3 separate regions of the Homo sapiens genome follow, and regions 1 and 3 are each linked to region 2. Evidence: promoter capture Hi-C in human tissues and cell types (Jung and others, 2019). All regions are on one chromosome and are shown on one strand. The core of a region is centred on a gene start or on the middle of the fragment in contact, and the rest is flanking DNA. Distances in the headings are between cores, read along the strand shown. Region 1 overlaps TRIP12 (thyroid hormone receptor interactor 12). Region 2 holds the start of SLC16A14 (solute carrier family 16 member 14). Region 3 overlaps SP100 (SP100 nuclear antigen).

What was found. The method cuts DNA at HindIII sites, captures the fragments that hold promoters and counts their contacts. A contact is called where the count stands out against the background at its distance.
Region 1: a fragment that was not itself captured here is called in contact with the fragment with the promoter of SLC16A14 in region 2 in 1 of the 25 tissues and cell types used here (lymphoblastoid cells).
Region 3: a contact is called between a fragment that was not itself captured here and the fragment with the promoter of SLC16A14 in region 2, in 1 of the 25 tissues and cell types used here (heart right ventricle).

The regions. Positions count from the first base shown.
Region 1 is chr2:229,800,358-229,804,195 of GRCh38, reverse strand. TRIP12 (thyroid hormone receptor interactor 12) reads left to right here. Exons shown (of 42, transcript NM_001348323.3): 19 at 1-197; 20 at 507-625; 21 at 1,737-1,944. Among named protein-coding and RNA genes, the nearest start is that of DNER, 88 kb to the right of the region's middle. The HindIII fragment of the contact is 4,828 bases long and covers 1-3,838 here.
Region 2 is chr2:230,066,648-230,070,243 of GRCh38, reverse strand. SLC16A14 (solute carrier family 16 member 14) reads left to right here and starts at 1,320. Exons shown (of 5, transcript NM_152527.5): 1 at 1,320-1,689. It overlaps LOC107985995 (a long non-coding RNA gene), which reads right to left and starts at 3,505. Exons shown (of 6, transcript XR_001739918.2): 1 at 3,467-3,505. RefSeq lists enhancers at 1,257-1,316, 1,327-1,446, 1,842-2,612 and silencers at 1,677-1,946, 2,217-2,466. The HindIII fragment of the contact is 6,778 bases long and covers 1-3,355 here.
Region 3 is chr2:230,419,762-230,423,193 of GRCh38, reverse strand. The region is part of intron 2 of SP100 (SP100 nuclear antigen); the gene reads right to left. Among named protein-coding and RNA genes, the nearest start is that of SP100, 5.3 kb to the right of the region's middle. The HindIII fragment of the contact is 3,698 bases long and covers 1-3,432 here.

The DNA.
Region 1 (3,838 bases), core at 241-2,740, 270 kb after region 2:
CGAGCACAGCTTATGAAAGAGGATCCGGAACTGGCTAAGTCTTTTATTAAGACATTATTTGGTGTTCTTTATGAAGTGTATAGTTCCTCAGCAGGACCTGCGGTCAGACATAAGTGCCTTAGAGCAATTCTTAGGATAATTTATTTTGCGGATGCTGAACTTCTGAAGGATGTTCTGAAAAATCATGCTGTTTCAAGGTGTGTTAATGAAAATAGTAGAAACATTTTACAAATACAAATCTCTGCAAGTAATTTCAGAAACCTCTAAAGTAATAATAGAAAAAATATGCACAAAAATTTGTTAGGAGTATCTTGAGCTCTTTTTTGTCTATTTATATTCACATAATAGCTTTTATAAAATATAAAACTTGAGCATTTAAGAAAAATGTTTATGTTAATAGAATGGTTTCACAATGAAAATGCTTTGCTCTCAATTTAAAGTAGTATGGCCAAAAATAATCATCAAATTCAGGCAGAGTTTTATATACAAATGCTTTCTTTTTTTAGTCACATTGCTTCCATGCTGTCAAGCCAAGACCTGAAGATAGTAGTGGGAGCACTTCAGATGGCAGAAATTTTAATGCAGAAGTTACCTGATATTTTTAGTGTTTACTTCAGAAGAGAAGGTAATGTCATATAAATTAATAGTCATTTAGTCTAGATAGTACTTCAACAGAAATAAAGTTTTAATCTGTCGAGCAAAAACTGATAGCTTTTCAATTTAAAAATGACATTTAAAGCTCTGTTAGCTTATAGCTCTGTGTACGTAGAATGTGTCTTTTAGGCTGGGCGTGGTGGCTCACGCCTGTAACCCCAGCACTTTGGGAGGCCAAGGCAGGTGGATCACTTGAGGTCAGGAGTTGGAGACCAGCCTGGCCAACATGGTGAAACCCAGTCTTTAAGAAAAATACAAAAATTAGCGGGGTGTGGTGGTGCACACCTGGGCTGATGTCAAACTCCTTGCCTCAAGCAATCCTACTGCCTCAGCGTGGGATTACAGTTTGTCTTTTAATAAGAGTCTGATAGAATGATAGAAGCCGTGGACTCTTCCCCAGAAAAATGTGAACGTGTGCTCATTCACTCACGTTAAATATATCCACATATTTGCATATAGTTTATACTAGCTGATAATCAGACATGCATATTGGTATACAATTTGATAGTTCTTAGTCACACTCCTTCATACATACTCTCCTATGATTCCGGGACAGATAGGAACCCCTGCCTCACAAGTTAATGTTTAGCTCTCTTTACACACCTTAAAGGATGTGATAGTTCCCACCCTTCAATAGCTGGTTTTTTTTTTGGTGGCAGTGTTAATGTGATCTTGTCTTTTTGTAGCGCTTGAAGTTAACTGATTCTTGGTCTTTTCCATCCCTTCTGGCTGTCACACCACAGGGTGTGCACTGTATTTCTGTAGTTGATTATTGTTTTTATAATGAGTATTTTGAACTCTGAATAGGACTTTGTGACCCTATTAAGTTTTATATAATCTGGTTTTGAAGATTAGAAGACATTCAATATCAGTATTTTTCTTTAACCTTTAGTTTTTATATTTTTTTCTGATTGAAGTCAAGTTGAAAACTCTGGCTCCTAATTTCTTTTACCTATTTGCCAGTTATGTTTTAGTCTTTTTGTGTATTATGTCAGTGTTGGTATTTAGGGATTTTGTAATGGTGGGGAGAAGGTTCTACTCCTGATTAAAACTGACTCCCTTTCATCTCTGTTATTATAAAGGTGTAATGCATCAAGTAAAACACTTAGCAGAATCAGAGTCTTTGTTGACAAGTCCACCAAAGGCATGTACGAATGGATCGGGATCCATGGGATCCACAACTTCAGTCAGCAGTGGGACAGCCACAGCTGCCACTCATGCTGCAGCTGACTTGGGATCACCCAGCTTGCAGCACAGCAGGGATGATTCTTTAGATCTCAGCCCTCAAGGGTAAGTAAGAATTGTGTTGTGATTTTTATTTCTTTGCTGTTAGCGCTGCTTTGGTACCTAAGAATCATATAGGGAGTAAAATGGTAACATATTAGCATATATATATTATATTTTTCCTTTTGTATTTTGTTAATGAGAATGGGAAGAAAACATTTATTGGAAACCTACTGTATTGGGCTGTGTTTAGGAACTGTAAGAGATTAGTTTTATTCCCACTGACATACAAGGAAACTAAAGTTCAGAGACATTTGTGACTTGCACGGTGTTACACACTTATGTTACTTGTAGGCTCTAACATTGTGGGATTTGAATTCTGGTTTCTGATTTCATAATCTTGTGACTATTTTTTGTGCTGCTGCATACATACGACCTCAGAGACATCCAGATATTAATACAGTTAAAAATACTGAAAATTAGAAGTCTTAGAATAAAGGCCAAAAAATACTGATTCCCCATTTATCTTTAATTGGCAACTGGGAGTTAAATACTTTGCTTTTAATAAGGGAAAATGAGAGTTCTTAAATTCTCTACTCCCATTTATTTATCAGCTTTTAATCTTTGTTATACCATGCTACTAAGAATGTTTCCAAAACTTCCATTGGTTTCCATTTTGTTGTGTTAGAAACAAATCACACTCTAAAAGTGTTTTTATTTCCTTGCTATTAGAAGCTTAATATTACTAGATGAGTGGTACCTGATGAACCAAATTCAGTTCTGAAATTCAGTATGTATTCACTTCAGTACTCTTTCTGGCTCCTTTTAAACTGAAAAGTAGATCATGCTAAAATATAGTAATAATAAGTGGGGTCCAAAAATTTAATCTTATAATCTGCAGGGTAGCATTGTCTTGTGCAGGCAGCCAACTCAGGTAGGAGAGGGGATGAGGGGAATTTGGTGCCACCTGGTGGCAGTTTTCTAGTCCAGCTTAAATATGAATTTTGGCAGTTTCAAGACTTCTGGCAGACTGAACTTCTGGCACAGTGGGTATTATTTTAGGAAACTGCTGAGTTTAACTGGCACCCATGTTGTTTGACCAGTCTGAGGAGATTGGGCTTGGAGAGTTCTGGGGACTCTTCCACATCCCTGATTCTGCAGTTGCTTTTGTCTGCCATTTTCCTTTCCAGCCTTGCTCTCTCCTTTACTTCCTTCCCAGCCCCATTCCTACCCACTAGCTGCTGCAGTAACATAAGTTATTGCAGGGTTTTACTGTAATGTAGGCATGGTGCCTGAGACATCATAGATACTCAGTAAATTACAGAGAGTGATACAGTTCAGACAATTGCAGTATTTCTTTCCCTTTAAAAATGTTTTCCTTTCTCCCTTTTTTCTTTTTCTTTTTTTCAAAAAGAGACACAGCATGGGGTCTTGCTCTGTTTCTCAGGCTAACCTCGAACTCCCGGGCTCAAGTGACCCTCCCTACCTTGGCCTCCGAAGTAGCTGGGACTACAGGCATGTGCTAGCATGCCCAGCTCAAATGCAGTATTTCTGAGCCATTTTAATTTAAGGAGTTGGAATTGATTATAGAGTCTAACAGTTGATTATGCCAAAGAAAGAGAAAATAACTTTTTTCTTAAAATATTTTTACATGGTTTTAAATAGTTTTAAGTGGTTCCATATTACAGCATGGTTGCAAATGAAAAATTCATGTTAATTTTTTTTAAATGAAAATTGTTTAATTACATTTTTCATCCTTTGAAAGTTCATTTTTCCTGATTGTCAAGCACATTTGAGCACATTATTAAGTATATTCCATAGAAATGTCAGGTGTTGGAAATTTTCCAATTTTTTTTCAGATTTTTCCAGTTTTATTTGGGCCACAGACCAACTAAACCACAACATTTTTCAGCCTTTTCATCTTATTTAGTTTTGTTATTCTAAAAATTTATTGCTGTTA
Region 2 (3,596 bases), core at 71-2,570:
CGTGTGCCTGTAGTCCCAGCTACTCAGGAGGCTGAGGTGGGAGGATCACCTGAGCCCAGGAGGTTGAGGCTGCAATGAGCTGTGATCATGCTACTGCACTCCAGCTTGGGTGACCGAGGAAGGCAATGTGAAATACATGTGAATTTTTTTTCAAAGAAACGAAAAAGAAGGAAGAAAAGAAAAAGGAAAAGAAGAAAGAAGGAAATCTGTGGTAGGCAGAATAATGGTCTCCCAAAGATGTCCACATCCTAATCCCTGGAACATGTGAATTTGTTACCTTACATGGCAAGAGGGGAATTAAGGTTGCAGATGGAATTAAGGTTGCTAATCAGCTGACCTTAAAATAGAGAGATTATCTGGATTATCTCATTGGACTCAATGTAATCCCCAGGGTCCTTAAAAGTGGACAGGGGTGGGGGCAGAAAAGGGGAGACAAGGCAATGTGAGTATGGAAAGAAGACAAAATGACGCAGCAGTGCTGGCTTTGAAGATGGAGGAAGAGCCACCAGCCAAGGAATGTGGGCGGCCTGCAGAAGCTGGTGGCTCTCCCCTACAGCCACGAGAAGGAACACAGCCTTCAAGGTGGCCAACACCATGATCTCAGCCTAGTATGACCCATTTCAAACTTCCGACCTCCAGAACTGTAAAATAGTGAATTTGTGTGGTTTTCCTCTGCTATTACTGTGGCAGTTTATCACAACAGCAGCAGAGAATTACTGCAAAACCTTCAGGCGGGAAAAAACAGCACAGGCTTCATCGACTCACACATTCACTTCAATAATACAGAAAACTGTCCAAGGCAAAGCACTATGTTGTGTGCCCTGCTGGGAATGAGGTAGGGAGGTATTGAGATGAAAGTTGTGCCTGGTGCCCACGAAGGTAGGTAATGGACGTGCAGAAAGAGCAGGGAGAGGTGGGACCCAGGGTGGAAACAAGAATGAGGGACTGGCCGGTCACGGTGGCTCAGCTTGTGATCCCAGCACTTTGGAGGCCAAGGCCAGAGGATTCCTTGAGTCCAAGTGTTCGAGACCAGCCTGGCAATATAGTGAAACCCGTGTCTCTAAAAGAGAGAGAATAAGGGACTTTGAGTCCTCTTTGGCCAAAAATATTTCAGTGAGGGTCTGTTTCATCCCTTCTCTCCCATCTCAGAGAAATGGAGGCTACTGCTAGTCTCACTTGCATCCTGGATTAGATTTCAGGACCTTTCCGCCAGTGATAAATGTGCAGCGCCTTAGCGGAACCTCAGCCAAAGCTATAAACTTCAACCGGCCACAAGAGTGTGCATGTGAGGTGACTGCATTTTTTTTCCCTGCCAAACCAGAATTAGCCGGTATAGGAATGAACGAGCATGAAGATTTGAAATTGCTCCGATTGGAAGGAAGCCCAGGTTAGGTTTGGGCACCTCCAAACGCACCCGTTTTAAAGCCACCTGGACTGAGGCGTCGAGCTTTCAGCTCCACCAAACGCTCACCTGGCCTGGCAGCGAGCGGCGGAAGAGCCCGGGAGCCCCTCACAGAGCGCACCGAGCCGGGCGGAGAGCTGAGCCGCAGGCACCCGCGTCTCCAGGATGATAGGCGACATTGCAACAAATCTCTACACCCAGCAGCTCAGGGGGCTCCAAGCAGAGCAGCAAGTTCGAGGATCCGGGCGTGGAGCCGAGTGAGGCCGCAGCCCAGCGGGCCTCGGGCGGTGAGTATCCGAGGCCGCGCGCGCCGCGGGCCTGGGGAATGGAGCGACGCCGGGGGCATCGGAGCCTAGGTTTCAGATGGCCGCTGCACCCCCAGGGACCCCCGGGAAGGGGCAGCCCCAGCCCAAGGCAGGCTCGGGAAAGGCTGCCCGGGCGGTGGAGGGCGAGACTGTGCCGGGGCAGGTGGTAGTGCCAAGGCCGCCGCGGGGGCTTGGGAGCTGCGGGCGGGCAGGGTAACCGGCGGTTCAGGGCAGACCGCCAGGCGGAGCTTGGGGACGCGCGCCTTGCTGCTCAAGCTGGCCGGGGCCCCGCGAGCGTCATCCTGGGCACCCCCGTCCGGCTGGAGAAGCGCGTTCTGCCCGGAGCCCAGCCTCGCTGCCCGGCTGCTCTCTAGGCCCGTTTGGGACTCGAACTGGACAGTGATGAGGCGCAGAGCGGGGGACCCGGGGCTGCGCCTAGGGACTTCGCGGGGTGCGGATGCCTCTCTGCACAGGCTGTGGTGCTGCAGCCGGCCCAGCTTCCCCGGTGGGCTGCTGGCTTCCGAACGCGCCGAGGGATGCGGGGTGCCCGAAGTGGGGATGTGGTCTCGGGGTGCCAAGGGAGCGGGAGCACCGAGCGCGGGTGGGGGCGGGCGCTCGAAGGGTGGGGCGCGAGGCCGGACCCCGCGGGCACGATCCCGCACCCAGGGCGCGCAGAGGCTGGGCCCCCTTAGCGCTTCCGATTGAGGCTCCTCAAGAGAGGCTGAAATGGGGTGAGAGACCGGGGACGGCCATTTCGGGGCTAAACGCTGCCAAGGCCATGACGATGTTTTAGGAGCTGAACTCTGCTTTCCAATTAAGCCATTTTCTTTCTGAGGAAAAGTTGATTCGGGCTCATTAACAAGGATGACTGAGGGCCATTATTGGGGCTTAGAGAGATTCTCCTTTGCCTTGTCTGGCTTCTTTGTTTGCATGTGCGTGCGTGTGCGGCTGTGTGTGTGTGTGTGAGAGAGAGAGAGAGAGAGAGAGAGAGAGAGAGAGAGAAGAGAGGGGAGAGAGGCAGTGTTGGGGGTGGGAGGAGGTAAAACAGGCTTGGGATCCTGCAGGCCTGGGTTCCGATTTGGTTTCCACAGCCTGCTAGTTTAACCTTTCTAAGCTTCATTGCTCCCATTTGATGGCTCAGATTCTTCCTCTGTAAAATGCGGACATTCATGCCAATTGGACTGGAGGAGAAGCCACCAAGCACAGTCCCTGACCCAGAGCGAAGCATGTATGTGTTGAGTCCTCCTAATTCGGTGTGAATTTTTCGGTTCTGTTTTTCTCCTATGCTGTCTGCACCAGCTCAGCTCAGCTCCGCTCCCCAGCCTTCTCCGCGGCAGCCTCTTCAGCCTGCTGGCCGCAAGTGCGCCCTCTAAAGGCCCCAAATGCCCTGTACACACCAGGTGAAGAGCGCGGAAGCGCCTGCAGAGCAGAATTAAAGGTGAAGCCCGCACTCACCTGCGTGGGATGCAGAGCCGCTACCACCACGCTCTGCGTAGCTTTGGGGAAGACTGTAATTTCAATTTTAGCTTCGTGCTTCCCGCTTTCCTTATGTGTAATGAGCTCACCACATGCAATGTAATAACAATAGCCAAATTAAAAATGAATGACTTGGCCCAGCGCGGTGGCTCATGCCTGTAATCCCAGCATTTTGGGAGGCCGAGGCGGGTGGATCATCTGAGGTCAGAGTTTCGAGACCAGCCTGGCTAACATGGCGAAACCCCTTCTCTACTAAAGATACTAAAGATGCAGTGGCACACACCTGTAGTCCCAGCTACTCGGGAGGCTGAGGCAGGAGAATCGCTTGAACTCGGGAGGCGGAAGTTGCAGTGAGCCGAGATCTCACCAGTGCACTCCAGCCTGGGCGACAAAGCCATACTCTGTCAAAAAAA
Region 3 (3,432 bases), core at 448-2,947, 350 kb before region 2:
CAGGAGAAATGCATAATATACTTCCAGAGCTTCACTAATCTGCTTTCTCCTAACAACTACACACACAGACATCAGTTTCAAATAATTTAATGGACAATTTTCTGCAATCTTTCAAGGAACAGATGATGTCTGTATTAAACAAATCATTCTAATACATATATGTGCATATATATAAATATATTCAAAATTTCAATCACCCTCAGTTATTTCATGAGGCTGCTATAGTTCTGCTATCAACCCTAGACAAATACAAAATAAGAAATGAAAATTGTAGGTCACAAAGTTGCTTATAAACACGTGAGGTAAAATCCCACAACAAAATATAAATAAATCCAACCCAGGAGTGGATGAAAGAGTCATATGGCATGACCATGTAGGTGTTATCTCAGGGATTCCAGGAAAGGTCACATTAGAGAACCAATCTATGCATTTGGTTAAGCCTGGCAGGTTGAACACACCTGCATTCATCTGTGTTCCTTCTGAAATCCCATGAAACCACCTATAAGAGAGAGTTAGAGGCAGAAAAGAAGCAAAGATCAGGGAATAGAAAAGGGCATCAAATAAGAGATAATCAAACATTTTGGAAGATAGGGGCATATATGGTAGCTAATTTCACAGAATGAAAAAACAAAAATCTTGATTACTTGCTTAGGGGAAGCTGACAAGGAGTAAGCCAGTGTACACTTTTGAACTCTGGAAGTTGTCAGGAATTAGAGGCACCATTCCTTTAGAAGGCGAGTTGGAAAATGAAAAATCAAAATGAGGCACAGTCAATGAGAGGCATTCCTTGCACAGAGCTCCTAATCAGATTTTTAGTGTCTCATTCCGAAATGTGAATGGACACCCAGTGGACACTTGATGAATTCTTCCAGAACAAGCAAATAATGGAGGAGGAGCTGGGAAAGAAACCTGGAAGGAACTAACACTTAAAACAACCTTGGAAGAAACGTAAAATTTAAAAAAAATTTTCATCCTCATTAGTAGAGAGAAAATTTCGGATTTCTTGAAACAAGATGCTATAAAAGAGAAACAACTTTTCAAAAGAGCTTTTGGAAATTAAAAATATAATGGCAGAAGTGTTTTAATCACTAGAAGGAATGAAGTTCCTCAGAAAATGTCATAGAAGTTAGATTCAAGAAAAGAAGACATATAAGATTTTCAAGAAAAAAAACCAGGGAGTCTCTAGAGGATCAATCTAGGAAAGCTAACATCCAACTAACAGGAATTCCAAAAGATAAAAGAGAGAGATAAAGCAGAAGGGAGAAACTATTCAAATAATATCACAAGCAAAATGGTCAGAATTGAAATAAAGTTGTCCATTTGAAAGGGCCCTGGAGAGCAAAGCACAACAAATGAATTTAACACCCACATCAAGGCAAACCATCATGAGATTTTAGAATCAAGGGATCAAAGAGAAGAGCCAGAAAATTTCAGACAGGCAAAACAGGTGACATAGAAAGACAGGATCAATAATCAGAATGGCATCAGGTTTCTTATTAGCAATGCTGGAAGTTGCAAGACAGTGAACTAAATTAATTTCCAAACTCTGCATTTATACTTACCAAATATTTATGCAGTTGTGAGGATTAAGGATAAAATTTTTTTTCCAGACATGTACAATTTATATATATATATATATAGTGTCTCTCAATTGAATCCCAGTAAGGTAGGATATATATATATATATATGTATATCTTCTATAAACTCTTAGTCAGGAGGCTACTGGATAATGTGGTAAACCAAAATGAGATAGTAAAGCAAGAAAGAGGTATACATGTAATCCACAAAACAAGACCCAACACAGGAGAGATGTCAAGCTTCAAGGTCAGCCTTGGAAGCTGAAACTAACCAGAACTGATGGAATCAGGGGAATGGATAATTCCAGGAGGGTTTCCCCAAGAAAGTAAAATGGACTTGATAAATTACCCAATGTGCCTCACTGTACTGAAAAGAATTTTAGAATTCTGCAGAGTGCTTGGGAAGAATTCATAATGAGGACACACAAAATCCAAGCAAATATATAAGAGGGCAATAGTTATTTGTGGGGTCGGCGGGGAGGGGCGGGAGGATGTTGCACAGGAAAGGAAATGTAATCATAATATAGTAGATGACTTGGTTATGAACAACATGTAAATAGTCATCATAATGGTAACACTGATTACTGATGAACCTCCAACTGTGATGTATTATGAGAATGGACAGGGAATGAAAAGGAGTGTTATGGAAAAAGTCTTCATCTTCTGTCCTATTATGTGAACAGATTAATGTCTGAAACTTGAAAAATTACAAAGAGCTGTATCAGCACATCATTTCAAAATACAGAAGTAAATACAAAAGTAAGAGCCAAAAAGTTAATCCATTAGGGAAACTGGACATGGGCTGGGAAGATGGCAGAAAGTACTACTTGTGTTTTTAAAGGTCTTATTGACTGATACTTTAAGCTATATATATATATATGTTTTACTTTGGTGAAATTAATAACCGAATTAATAAAATGTTTCAATATAATTTACTGTGGATAAATCAGATTAAAAGAGAAAAATGATACAATTCTCAAAGATTCTTTAGTAGGCATTTTGATAAATATCCTATACACAGGCCTGATTAAAATAAATAACTTTTAGTAAACCAGAGCCAGCAGGAAATGTCCTTAACTTGAAAAAAGGTGTCTATAAGAAAGCCTCAATTTAAACATTATAAGTATTCCCCTTGAAATCAGGAATAAAACTAAAATGTTCATTTTTACTGTTACTATTCAGTATTACACTGGCAGTCCTGGCTAATGCGCTAAGGCAAAAGAGAAAGAAAAAAGAAAGAAAAAGAAAAGTATACAGGTATAAATTCTGAAAAAGAGGAGACAAAGCTGCTACTATCTTTGAAGATGTAATTATTTCTCCAGAAAAACACAAGACAATATTAAGAGGGAGAAGACCACTTAGTAAGACTCCTATGCACAAGATCAGCTAACTAAAATGAATAGATTTCCCTTATGCCAGCAAGAAATAACTAGAAAATGTAAAAGGAAAATGAATTCCTGTTTACAAATACAATTTTAAAATGCCTAGAACTAAAGCGACCCAACAAGGTCCCAAGTTCAAACAATCATGAATAAATGGAGAGATTTACTATGTTTCTCACTGGGGCCATTCAGGATTTTTTTAAAACATAAATTCTTCCTAAATTTATCTGTTCATTTAGTGTCTCTCAATTCAATCCCAGTAAGGTAGGTTACAGAACACTACCTATAAAATCATAGTAACTAAAACATTTCAGTATTGAAACAAGAATGAAAATAGAACCATGGATCAGATCATGGGTCACCAACGCAAATTCATATGTAAAATTTAGCACACTAGTTCCCTTCTATCCACAGGGGATGCTTCCAAGAACCCCAGTGGATGCTTGAAACCGCAGATAGTACCAAACTCTGC